3 separate regions of the Homo sapiens genome follow, and all the other regions are linked to region 2. The links are contacts of gene promoters, found by promoter capture Hi-C in human tissues and cell types (Jung and others, 2019). All regions are on one chromosome and are shown on one strand. The core of a region is centred on a gene start or on the middle of the fragment in contact, and the rest is flanking DNA. Distances in the headings are between cores, read along the strand shown.

Region 1 (3,811 bases), core at 1,140-3,639, 190 kb before region 2:
GCTTCACTCCTGAGCCAGCAAGACCACGAACCCACCAGAAGGAAGAAACTCCGAACACATCTGAACATCAGAAGGAACAAACTCCAGACGCACCACCTTAAGAGCTGTAACACTCACCGCGAAGGTCTGCGGCTTCATTCTTGAAGTCAGTGAGACCAAGAACCTACCAATTCCGGACACACTAGTACTCTGTAATATAGGAACGTACAGTTTCCTGTGCATTCCTAAAAAAGGCCAGTGATGGCATTAAGTTGCCTCTTGATAGTAACAACTCTACCTATAAAAGTGATGCACATGAAGTCTCGCCCCAAATACTCCACAAAACATAAAAGGTATATAAAAACTAAATAGTATATACAAAATATGTAAGAGGTAAGTGAAACCATCCTTGTATAATTCCAGGTTAAGATCCTGTTATAGAGTCTGCCTTTGAAAGTACAGTTAAATGAAGCAGTATATATTAATTTTGAAAAAGGCACATATGTGGAGGTCTGAATTAAGGGAAAACAGATCTATTTGTTTCTTTTAAATGAGCATGCTAAGAGAGGAGGACAGGCCAGGAATGGTGGCTCATGCCTGTAATCCCAGCACTTTGGGAGGCCAAGGCAGGCGGATCCTGAGGTCAGGAGTCTGAGACCAGCCTGGCCAACATGATGAAATCCCATCTCTACTAAAAATACAAAAATTAGCCAGGCATGGTGGCAGGCACCTGTAATCCCAGCTACTCAGGAGGCTGAGGCAGGAGAATCACTTGAACCTGGGAGATGGAGGTTGCAGTGAGCAGAGATCGCACCATTGCACTCCAGCCTGGGCGACAGAGCAAAAGACTCCATCTCAGAAAACAAAACAAAAACAAAAAAAAAAAAACAGAGCGAGAGAGGAGAACAAAGAGGAAAAATAACTCAAACGCCAACAGGAAGGCACCCAAGAGATGTGCTTTCCATGAAAATTTTTGGCAGGTTCAGAGAGAACTTTAGAAGGTTCAAAGGGGATAGATCTCTGAAAGGTACAAAAAGCGATTTCCTTTGGCAGCCATGTCAGACAAGGTAATATAAGATTTTTGTTTTGATGTATGAATGCCAAATGTCACCATCTCTTTTTCAACTAGCAAATTTAATCTACTGTATCACTACCAAGCCTAGTCATTCTTTATCAAACTATCCTGCTGCTTTGCTTTTTTCTAAACACATTGTTGTCCAATATTTCTGTATTTACTTAATGTCTATTTCTCTAACTACACAATAAATCCAACCATAACTAAGACCTTTTTAGTCCCAATCATAACGAGGACCCAGTCTTGCTCATTGCTATAGCACCCAAAAAGATGGCTAGCACATAGTAGGTATTTAGTATTAATATATATCTATTAGATGAACTAACCTACCTCTTCAGTCCAAGCTTAGCAAAAATCTCAAAAGTCAGTCTTTGTCTGAGCAGAAATCAGATAATGAAAATATAACCCGATATAGAATCCTCAAAGAATGAAAAAGACTTGAACCTAATCTTCTCAAAAATAAAATTTAAAAGCCAGGCTTCCAAGGAAGCTTAACTGCCTAGGATTGATGCATAGGTACCTCTGGGTTGCAGTAGCAAACATTATTACAATTATTAGATTAACACTTGGCTCCCTGAAAACACACCTGCTGCCCCTCCTAAGATAATGAATAAATCTCCTCAGATATAAAATCTCCTTTAAGGAAATAAAAATCAATCACTTTGCTTTTCCACGTTTCAGGGAAGGGTGTATATGTGTGACAGAGAAGAGAAACACAGACACACTCCAATAAAGGGGAAAATACGGCCAGAAAACATACTGTGGGACATTACCACTCTGGCAGTGCACAGAAGATACAAAGAATTAGATGTAAAAGGCATACTAATAAACTAAAAAAATTGAAGGTAGAGGTGATAGGAAAGGCCTGGGATAGAAAGACCTTCTTCATCACACATAAGCAACAACCAAGGGTACTAAAAATAAAAGACAAGGTGATTTAGTGCAGATTAGAAAGATTAAAGTATCTGCCTGGATACCAACAACCCCTGTTAAAAGAATGATGAGTAGATAGGAAAGACTTTTTGTTTTATTTACTCAATATTAGATACAAATTTAAATTTAATTAAAATTAAATAAAATTTAAAATTTGGTCTCAGAAAACATACTGTGGGACATTACCACTCTGGCAGTGCACAGAAGATACAAAGAATTAGATGTAAAAGGCATACTAATAAACTAAAAAAATTGAAGGTAGAGGTGATAGGAAAGGCCTGGGATAGAAAGACCTTCTTCATCACACATAAGCAACAACCAAGGGTACTAAAAATAAAAGACAAGGTGATTTAGTGCAGATTAGAAAGATTAAAGTATCTGCCTGGATACCAACAACCCCTGTTAAAAGAATGATGAGTAGATAGGAAAGACTTTTTGTTTTGTTTACTCAATATTAGATACAAATTTAAATTTAATTAAAATTAAATAAAATTTAAAATTTGGTCTTCAGTCACACTGGCCACATTTCAAGTAAGACAGCACAATATGGACATCCCCAACACTGTAGAAAGCTCTATTACACAGCACTGCTTTACATTCTCACACATCAAAAAAGCCCTCCATTACAAAACATATTCCCAGGCATTAACAATATCAATTTATTTCTGGCCATTAACACAGGTATAATTTTAAGACCACATTTTAACAGCATGCACCATATTACTAATGAAGTCTTAATGCTAACCTGAATACTCTACTTGGAAATGGAGATTTGTGATAAATCTATATTTTAATTTCATTGTTTCCCAAAATTAAAATGCAACTAAAAGCCTGTTCTGGATGTACATTATCTGCCATTAGAAATAACTATTTTATCATACAAATGAAATTTTTGTAAATGTTTACTAACAAAAAATCAAAGAACAGCAAAAAGTTTTTCTGGACTCATTTATTCAATACTTCTACACATAACAAAGAGTAGGAAAGGAAAGGAAGAAAACTATTTCATTCACATCATTAGCAAATGAAAAGCTTGCATGGAAATAAACATCCCCAAACACCACAGCATTTCGCAAATGAACTACTAAAATTCAACATACTAAAGAAGCTCCACCATTTATTTCCCACACACTACACAGTTCCAAGTCAAAAGCTTTATTGAGAGGCAATATAATCCAAGCAAATACAATTTTAAAAAGCTTACATTAGATGATACATTCATCCTTCACTTTGAGAAAATATGCTACATGATTATTCAGAAACCAAATAATGAGAAAGTCCAAACGACCAGATTCCAACGTTGCTATGCAGGTCTCCACAAATACTAAAAACACAGCAGTTTGGAATGTATCTATTACCAGTTCAGATCTGCTCCTCCCCACTAATATGACTTCAGACAAGTCTCTTTCTTTCTGGTTTCATTTTTCTTACCTACGAATAGTAAGGAAACTGAGCACAAGTTCTAAACAGTTACACAAATGGCTAACGACAATTTAAATGTCCAACTGCATGTAATCAAAAAGACAACACATTAATACAGAAATTATATACTAGATCCCAATAAAAAAATTACTGTGCTTCTGTGATAACAGATACTCGTAACGATGGCATTAAAGAAATGCAAGATCCTAACCACACTTCTGGAATATCCATGAAAGAGCAATTATTGTCTGTTTTGTAAGATTATTATATTTTAATTTTCTAACATCTGTATGGTCTACAAGGTTATTCAGTTAAGCAAAATATTCAAAAGAGTACCACATAACATTAAAAATCCATCCTATTAAAAATGAGGTTATAGACATACCAGTCAAAAAATGGGTG
Region 2 (3,408 bases), core at 695-3,194:
AATTTATAATTTCCTCAAAAAAACTCTTAATAACTTGTCCACTCCAAGTGTTCTTAATACTGTGTATTGTCACGTGTATTTAAAGAAGAAATGCCAACTCCTGTTTTTGAGACTTGCTTGTTTGTGGGTGCAGTGGGAAGGGAAAATAGCCAGGTTAATTAGAATCTTTGTATCAGTGGCAGGTAGCCTTTTATTTTCAATACTCTAATAACAGTGACTTCAACCTAAAGGTTCATATCATCAAAATAGAAAACAAATTTGTGGAAAATAAAAAATAAGATTTTTTAATACTTTTAATATGCAAAAGCCTGTAGCATAGACTAGTGTTTTGAAAGTCACAATGGGGTTCACTTGGAATTTGTTTTAAAGACAATGTGTATTTGAAGTGTACATGTTATGACTGTGCAAGAGATGGAAAGATAGAAATTTATGTGGCAATGTGTACTGCATTAACCGCAGAGACAGTGGAGTTAAGAAAGTCTAAAAAACAAGCCTTATTTTCTCAAGGTCATCCCTTCTTGACACTTTCATCCCCTACTCCTTACTGCAGAATCCCAGGTGCCTGCTCAGACGGCCTATTCTGTTAAGCTTTTGGGGAGAATATATTAATATTTCAGAAATAACACACAGAAGAATAAAACAGGAACTGTGTTTACTTGAGTTCTTTAAAAGCTCTTGGATGACTCTTTGACTGATGAAATAGCAATCTATACAGATCCCCTGAGTATTGAATGCTGAAATCCAGCAGAAAGGGGACACAAAAAATTTTCTTTGACCTCTTCTGTAACAGTGATGTCTGCCCCAGATGTTAGAATTACAAGTCACATTGCTCCCAAGGGGTACAGTTCTCTTCGGTTTATCCCACACGACTCTACTCAGCAGGAGATGCTGTCTGTTACATAATAGTTCTCAGTATTAAAGGGTACAATAACTACACCCTTTCTCATGGTAAAGCTATGTCCAAAGACACATGGACATCTACCCAATGTCTCTTTTCTCCCTTCTCTCCTTCTCTCTCTCTCTCTCTCTCACAGACACACACACACACACACACACACACACACACACACACGCGCGCGCGCCTAAAGTACCTGCCACCTAATGATTAGCTAAAAATAAAGCAAACCTGCGCAATACAGATTTGGAAACATTAGGGATGGAAATCATGTTGGGAAGGAACAGAAGGACAGGTTTTCTCTTCTTCTTTTGTGTGGGCTTTTTTCCCGTCTTTTTTTTTTTTTAACCTGTGACAATTCGTTTTTAGCCCTTCGTCTTCTCTTTGCTATTGAATATAGTCTTGAGCAGCGTTGATTTCATTTCAGCTTCACTCCCCTGCTCCTGCCACTTGCCCACACCCACAGCTGCCACTCCTTGGAGTGGGGAAACTTCCCTTCTATTCTGCTGGGCTCATTACCGCAGACGCTGTTGCCTCTCCTGAACATTGGGTCAGCCTCCCCACCTCCACTCTTCCTTACTTCAAAGAGGTGCAAAGGAAGAGCAGTGTTTTGTCTTTTTTCTTTCTTTCTTTCTATCACCACACCACCCCCCACCGTCCCCCACCCCAAACAAAGATAAAACCTGAGAGTCGAAGCTTGTTCTCAGGAATACTAAGAACTTAGGGGCACAGCCATCCTCACACCAGTCCAAGACTTCTCAGAGTTCACTACACAGGGTTGAGGGCTGGACCGGCAAAACTCGATTTGCCCATCAAGTTAACTTGGTCGGCCTGGGACCCGAGGCCAGGGTGAAGGGACGACATCCCGGGGCCCTGTGGCTTCTCCCTAGAGCGCCCAAACAGCGGCGTAGGTCTGGGACGCCCCCGGCCCCCGGCTTTGGAAGAGGCTGGCGCGGAGCAGGCGCCTTGGAGCAGGGTCTCGGGGGTCCCCGGAACAGTCACGTGTTCTCGAGACGCCGTTAAACCCCCGCCCCCTCTTCCCCACCGCCGCCTCCAGGTCCTGCTCCCGCTGCTGCCGCCACCGCCGGGGTGCAGGAGCGATCGCGCTGGGCCGCGCTCCCGGGAGCCCAGGGCCTGCAGCGGCCGGGGCGCCCCGAGGTACGGGCTCCCGCCCCTCCCTGCCAACCCCTTTCGCGCCGGGTAGGCCTGCACCGAGGGGCCGTGGCGGGTCCCCGCGCGGGCTGCGAGTCTGCGCAGGTCCCTGGGAGCCCGCACCCGTCTCTGGTGCCAGGGCGTTGTCGGGGGTCCCAAGAGAGCGGGGTGGGGAAGGTGAAGGGAGCGCGGCTGGAAAAATGGGGATTAGGGTGGCGGAACAGGCACTTGTCAGGAGTGAAGAGACAGCGGAGAGGGTACTGGGCTGAATTCTTTCGTGCCGAGCAGGTCCCTCCGGTTCCCAACTCACCCGGGTGGAGCAGGCGCGGGCCGAACCCGGGAGGAGAGTGTCGGGGATCCGCGAAGGAGCCTCCTGGGGATGGGGCGGGGGATGGACAAAGCGCTGCCCCCGGCTGGACGCGCTCTGGCTGCAGCCCGGCTGGCATCCGGAGCTGGGAACAGCAGCCCGCGGGGTGCCCGGGTCAGGGCTCAACCCTAGCGGGTCTCTGGCGAGGCCGGGGGCGCAGCCCGCGGGGCGCCACTCAGGCCGTCCAGCTGCCGCGCGGTCCAGCGCTGACCCGAGCCCGGGAGGCAGCTGCGCTCTAAGGTTTGCGCTCCTGTTTGCGAGGTGTCTTCATATAACAAATGCGAGCAATAACAAACATCCATAGAACTCGAATTCCAGAAACGGGAATTCTTTTTTCCAAGTTCACAGACCTTTAGTTAATCTTTTAAAGGAACTGAGGCGTTGTGTTGGACCAAAGCCAAAACGATTTTACCTTAGACCATGGAAAATAGCCTAAGGCTCTTTCAGCAGAATTTTGCAGTCCGAATGCAATTTTAGATTTCAGATTTCTCAAGGGAAGAGAAACTCTGCTGTTAGAATTTGGAAGGGAGGGTGGTGCATGCCTGTGTGTTTGTCAGCTGAGCAGAGCTGTATTTATCTTTCCAATTCAAATTGTGCCAGATTCTGGCTTTAAGAACAAACCATGGGAATATTTGAGAACATGGAATCATGCTGCTGTTCCACGATCACAGCAAAACAGACAATAGTTGATATTGTATCATTGCAGGAGGAAAAAGAATTACATATATTTTATTCTTTTGTGTGATTGTCATCCTTTGTGAAAAGAATGATGTGTATTTTCATAAAGCAAAAAATTATTCAAACAAAGAAACCTTATTTAAATGTACAAGTCAGACTTTTAATATCCTTTGAATTCCCTGCAGTTCCTCCTATTATTCTTGAGAACTATCTACTTTCTTAAAATACTTAAAATCTATTCAGAAGGTTTCATTTGTCTAGGTGTCAGATATAGAAGAGTTTATAAGAAAATTCCAGTAAACCTTTAAAAAGATAT
Region 3 (3,328 bases), core at 561-3,060, 150 kb before region 2:
AGGCACATCCTGCTGATTGGTAGAGCCGAGTGGTCTGTTTTAACAGGGCGCTGATTGGCGCGTTTACAATCCCTGAGCTAGACATAAAGGTTCTCCACGTCCCCACCAGACTCAGGAGCCCAGCTGGCTTCACCCAATGGATCTCGCACCCGGGCTGCAGGTGGTGCTGCCTGCCAGTCCCGGTGTCATGCGCCCACACTCCTCAGCCCTTGGGTGGTCGATGAGACTGGGCGCCCTGGAGCAGGGGGTGGCGCTCGTCGGGGAAGCTCGGGCGGCACAGGAGCCCATGGAGGGGGTGGGAGGCTCAGGCATGGCGGGCTGCAGGTCCCAAGCCCTGCCCCGCGGGAAGGCAGCTAAGGCCTGCTGAGAAATCGAGCGCAGCGTCGGTAGGCTGGCACTGCTGGGGTACCCAGTACACCCTCCGCAGCTGCTGGCCCGGGTGCTAAGCCCCTCATTGCCAGGGCCGGCGGGCTGCTCCGAGCGCGGGGCCCGCCAAGCCCACGCCCACCCAGAACTCCAGCTGGCCCGCAAGCGCGGCACGCAGCCCCGGTTCCCGCTGGCGCCTCTCCCTCCACACCTCCCTGCAAGCTGAGGGAGCCGGCTCTGGCCTTGGCCTGCCCAGAAAGGGGCTCCCACAGTGCAGCGGTGGGCTGAAGGGCTCCTCAAGTGCCGCCAAAGTGGGAGCCCAGGCAGAGGAGGCGCGGAGAGCCAGCGAGGGCTGTGAGGACTGCCATCACGCTGTCACCTCTCACCACAATGTATAGTTCTATTGCAAATAGTGGAGTGAGTATAACAATTCTTGCGAGAGTGGCGTGATAGATAATTTCCATTTAAAATTTTACTTGCCAAGATATAGTTTCCCTCTGGGGTCCTATGAAGTTATAAATGCAAGTGTATGAGTAATTAAAGTTTCCTTGCAAATATCTGTTAAAAAGAAGTTCTAATATTTGGTGGTGAATTTTGAGAGGGAAGGTAGAAACAACAAAAAGGATTTGGTGAGGTAAAGATGGGACTGAGTAAGGCGAGTAGCCCTCAGTTACTTATCTTTTATGATTTTCAGCTTAGTATCTTCTATTTCTTCACATTGATATTCAGGGTGTTCTCTGGGCTGTCGGGTTGCTCCCTCAGATTTTCAGGCTTTTACTTGAGTGTGATGTATTCAGAAGTTGATACCTGTAACTTTTATTGCCAAGTGGGAGAGAGCATTGAAAGAACAGTGTAGGGCCCTTCCCAGCTTGGGCTTAGGGAAGGAGAGCGAGGAAGAGAGAGTTTTTACTAAAACCAAATCTCCTGGGTTAAAAACAGGTGGTCCTATTTCTTGGTATTGGGCCTCTGCTAGTTGTGTTGATTCTTGTTGGAAATGAGCTAGAGAGGTTGCATGCTTAACTAATTTAGAAGTTTTCTGATCTAATAGGAAGTCATTTGTAATGAAAGGCCGTCCATACAGCATTTCGCAAGGACTCAGGCTTAACTTTCAAGGGGTATTTTTTTTTTCTGTAGTAAGGCCGTAGTAGTAAGGGAAGAAGAGTGACCCAAGGAGGTGAGTTTCCTAGAAGTTTTCTGAGGTGTATTTTGGTAATGTCATTTGTTTTCTGTACCTTCCCTGAGGACTGGGACCTCCAAGCACAATGGGGATGATACTATAAGCCTAGTGCCTTTGAGACTCCCTGGGTGACAGCTGCTTTGAATAAGGGGCCATTGTCACTTTGGAGATACTTAGGTAGACCAGAGCCAGGGGTTATTTCATTAACTAGCACTTTTATTACCTCACAGGCTTTTCTGTACAGCATTGAAATTCTTCTTTCCAGTTAGTGAAGAGAAATTCTTCTCTCCATGTCTTTGGCATGTGGGTGAAGTCCATTTGGTAGTCTTCCCTGGATAGCTTTCTATTCTTTGGGTTTGAGGAGGAAAGACCCGTTTGTTGAGGAAATTATTTTTAAGACAGACTTTTCAAGCATTAATAACCTATTTGGCTTTTTTTTTTTCTTTTTCTTTTTTTATCAAATAATCTCCTGAAAACAATCTCTGGGCACACTGGTAAGTTTTTTCCTTTTCCAGGTGAAAATTTTGGTGAAGGATTTTAAGGACTTTCCATTGTCTAGAGGCTGGCAAGTGGAGTTTGCCATTCTCTGACTGTAGCTGTCCTGAAGGCTAGAAAGTGTACCTCCAAGAAGTGGCCCACTCCATTTCTGCAGGGGATTACTGAGGCTTAATTGTTTTTATGGAGCCTTCCCAGGCTAGAGGGGCTTTAAGTGTGTTGAGGCCCTGAGGCTTTCTTGCTGCTGTCTTGGCTTCCTGATGAGCTAACTTGTTTCCTTCAGCTATTTCATGTGTTTCCTTTTGATGTTCCTTACAACGCATCACTGCTGCTTCTTGTGGAGGGAAAACTGAGGATAATAACCTGTTAACTTCCTGGTGATATTTTATAGTAGATCCACTAGTAGTAAGAAATATCTTTCATTTTAAATGGCAGCATGAGCATGGAGAACTAAGAAAGCATACTTGGAGTCAATGTAAATGTTGCCTACATTTCCCTTGCTTAATTCAAGTATTCTTGTAAAAGCTATTAGTTCAGCTAATTGAGTGCTTGTGTCTGGGGAGAGATGTAATTTAGGGTGACCACTGCTTATCCTGCGTTACGTGTCTCTTGCTTTACTGGCTGTTGGTTAGCTAAAGGCTCCCTCTAGAGGACAGTAATTCTGCCACATTATGTGGGGTATAAACAGTTAAGTTATTTTCCACGGTTAATTTGGAGGCTTCTTTGACTAGCAGAGCCACTGTGGCAGTGGCTTGCAGACATGTGTAAATAATAGGTCCTCCTAACTGCAACTAAGGGGTTGAGAAAGATACTGGATTAGAATTTTTCCTGAGATGCCCTTTATGGTCGTGCCTTGGGAAGAAGGGAGGCCTGGATTAGAGAGAAGAAAGATACTGGCTGCAGTCTTTAGAAGGAGGTCTATCTTCCTTCTTTCAATTCCTAGAATCATGTGAGGCTCTTGTGCTGTAATGGCAGTTTAAGCTGCTGGAGCCTGGGGTTTGAGCGCCAGGACCCATTAGTCCTGTTGGACCATTTGTGAGACTGCTTCTGAACCCAGTGACCTCTGTCTTTGGGGGCAGTTTGATCTCCAGTGGTCTCCACCACAGGCTGGACAGGGTTGAGATGGCTTCTTTTTGCTGTTTTGGAACTCCTTTTTAAAGTGCCCTGGCTGCCACACCGATAGCAATGAGCAGATGCACCTCAGGGATCCTGGACTTTGCAAGCCTGCAAAGCAGGTACTGGAGCCTCAGTCTTTCTTTTATGCTGTCTCTGTCTCTCTCGGGCCTCCTC

The links. Contacts are between HindIII fragments. The study calls those that stand out against the background at their distance.
Region 1: a contact is called between a fragment that was not itself captured here and the fragment with the promoter of NPY5R in region 2, in 1 of the 25 tissues and cell types used here (dorsolateral prefrontal cortex).
Region 3: a fragment that was not itself captured here is called in contact with the fragment with the promoter of NPY5R in region 2 in 1 of the 25 tissues and cell types used here (H1 embryonic stem cells).

Annotation. Positions count from the first base shown.
Region 1 is chr4:163,154,037-163,157,847 of GRCh38, forward strand. All of the region lies in intron 2 of NAF1 (nuclear assembly factor 1 ribonucleoprotein), which reads right to left. Among named protein-coding and RNA genes, the nearest start is that of NAF1, 11 kb to the right of the region's middle. The HindIII fragment of the contact is 3,581 bases long and covers 600-3,811 here.
Region 2 is chr4:163,341,948-163,345,355 of GRCh38, forward strand. It overlaps NPY5R (neuropeptide Y receptor Y5), which reads left to right and starts at 1,945. Exons shown (of 4, transcript NM_006174.4): 1 at 1,945-2,053. It also overlaps a transcript of NPY1R not described here. The HindIII fragment of the contact is 9,678 bases long and covers 1,090-3,408 here.
Region 3 is chr4:163,189,519-163,192,846 of GRCh38, forward strand. No RefSeq gene overlaps it. Among named protein-coding and RNA genes, the nearest start is that of NAF1, 24 kb to the left of the region's middle. The HindIII fragment of the contact is 5,452 bases long and covers 1-3,328 here.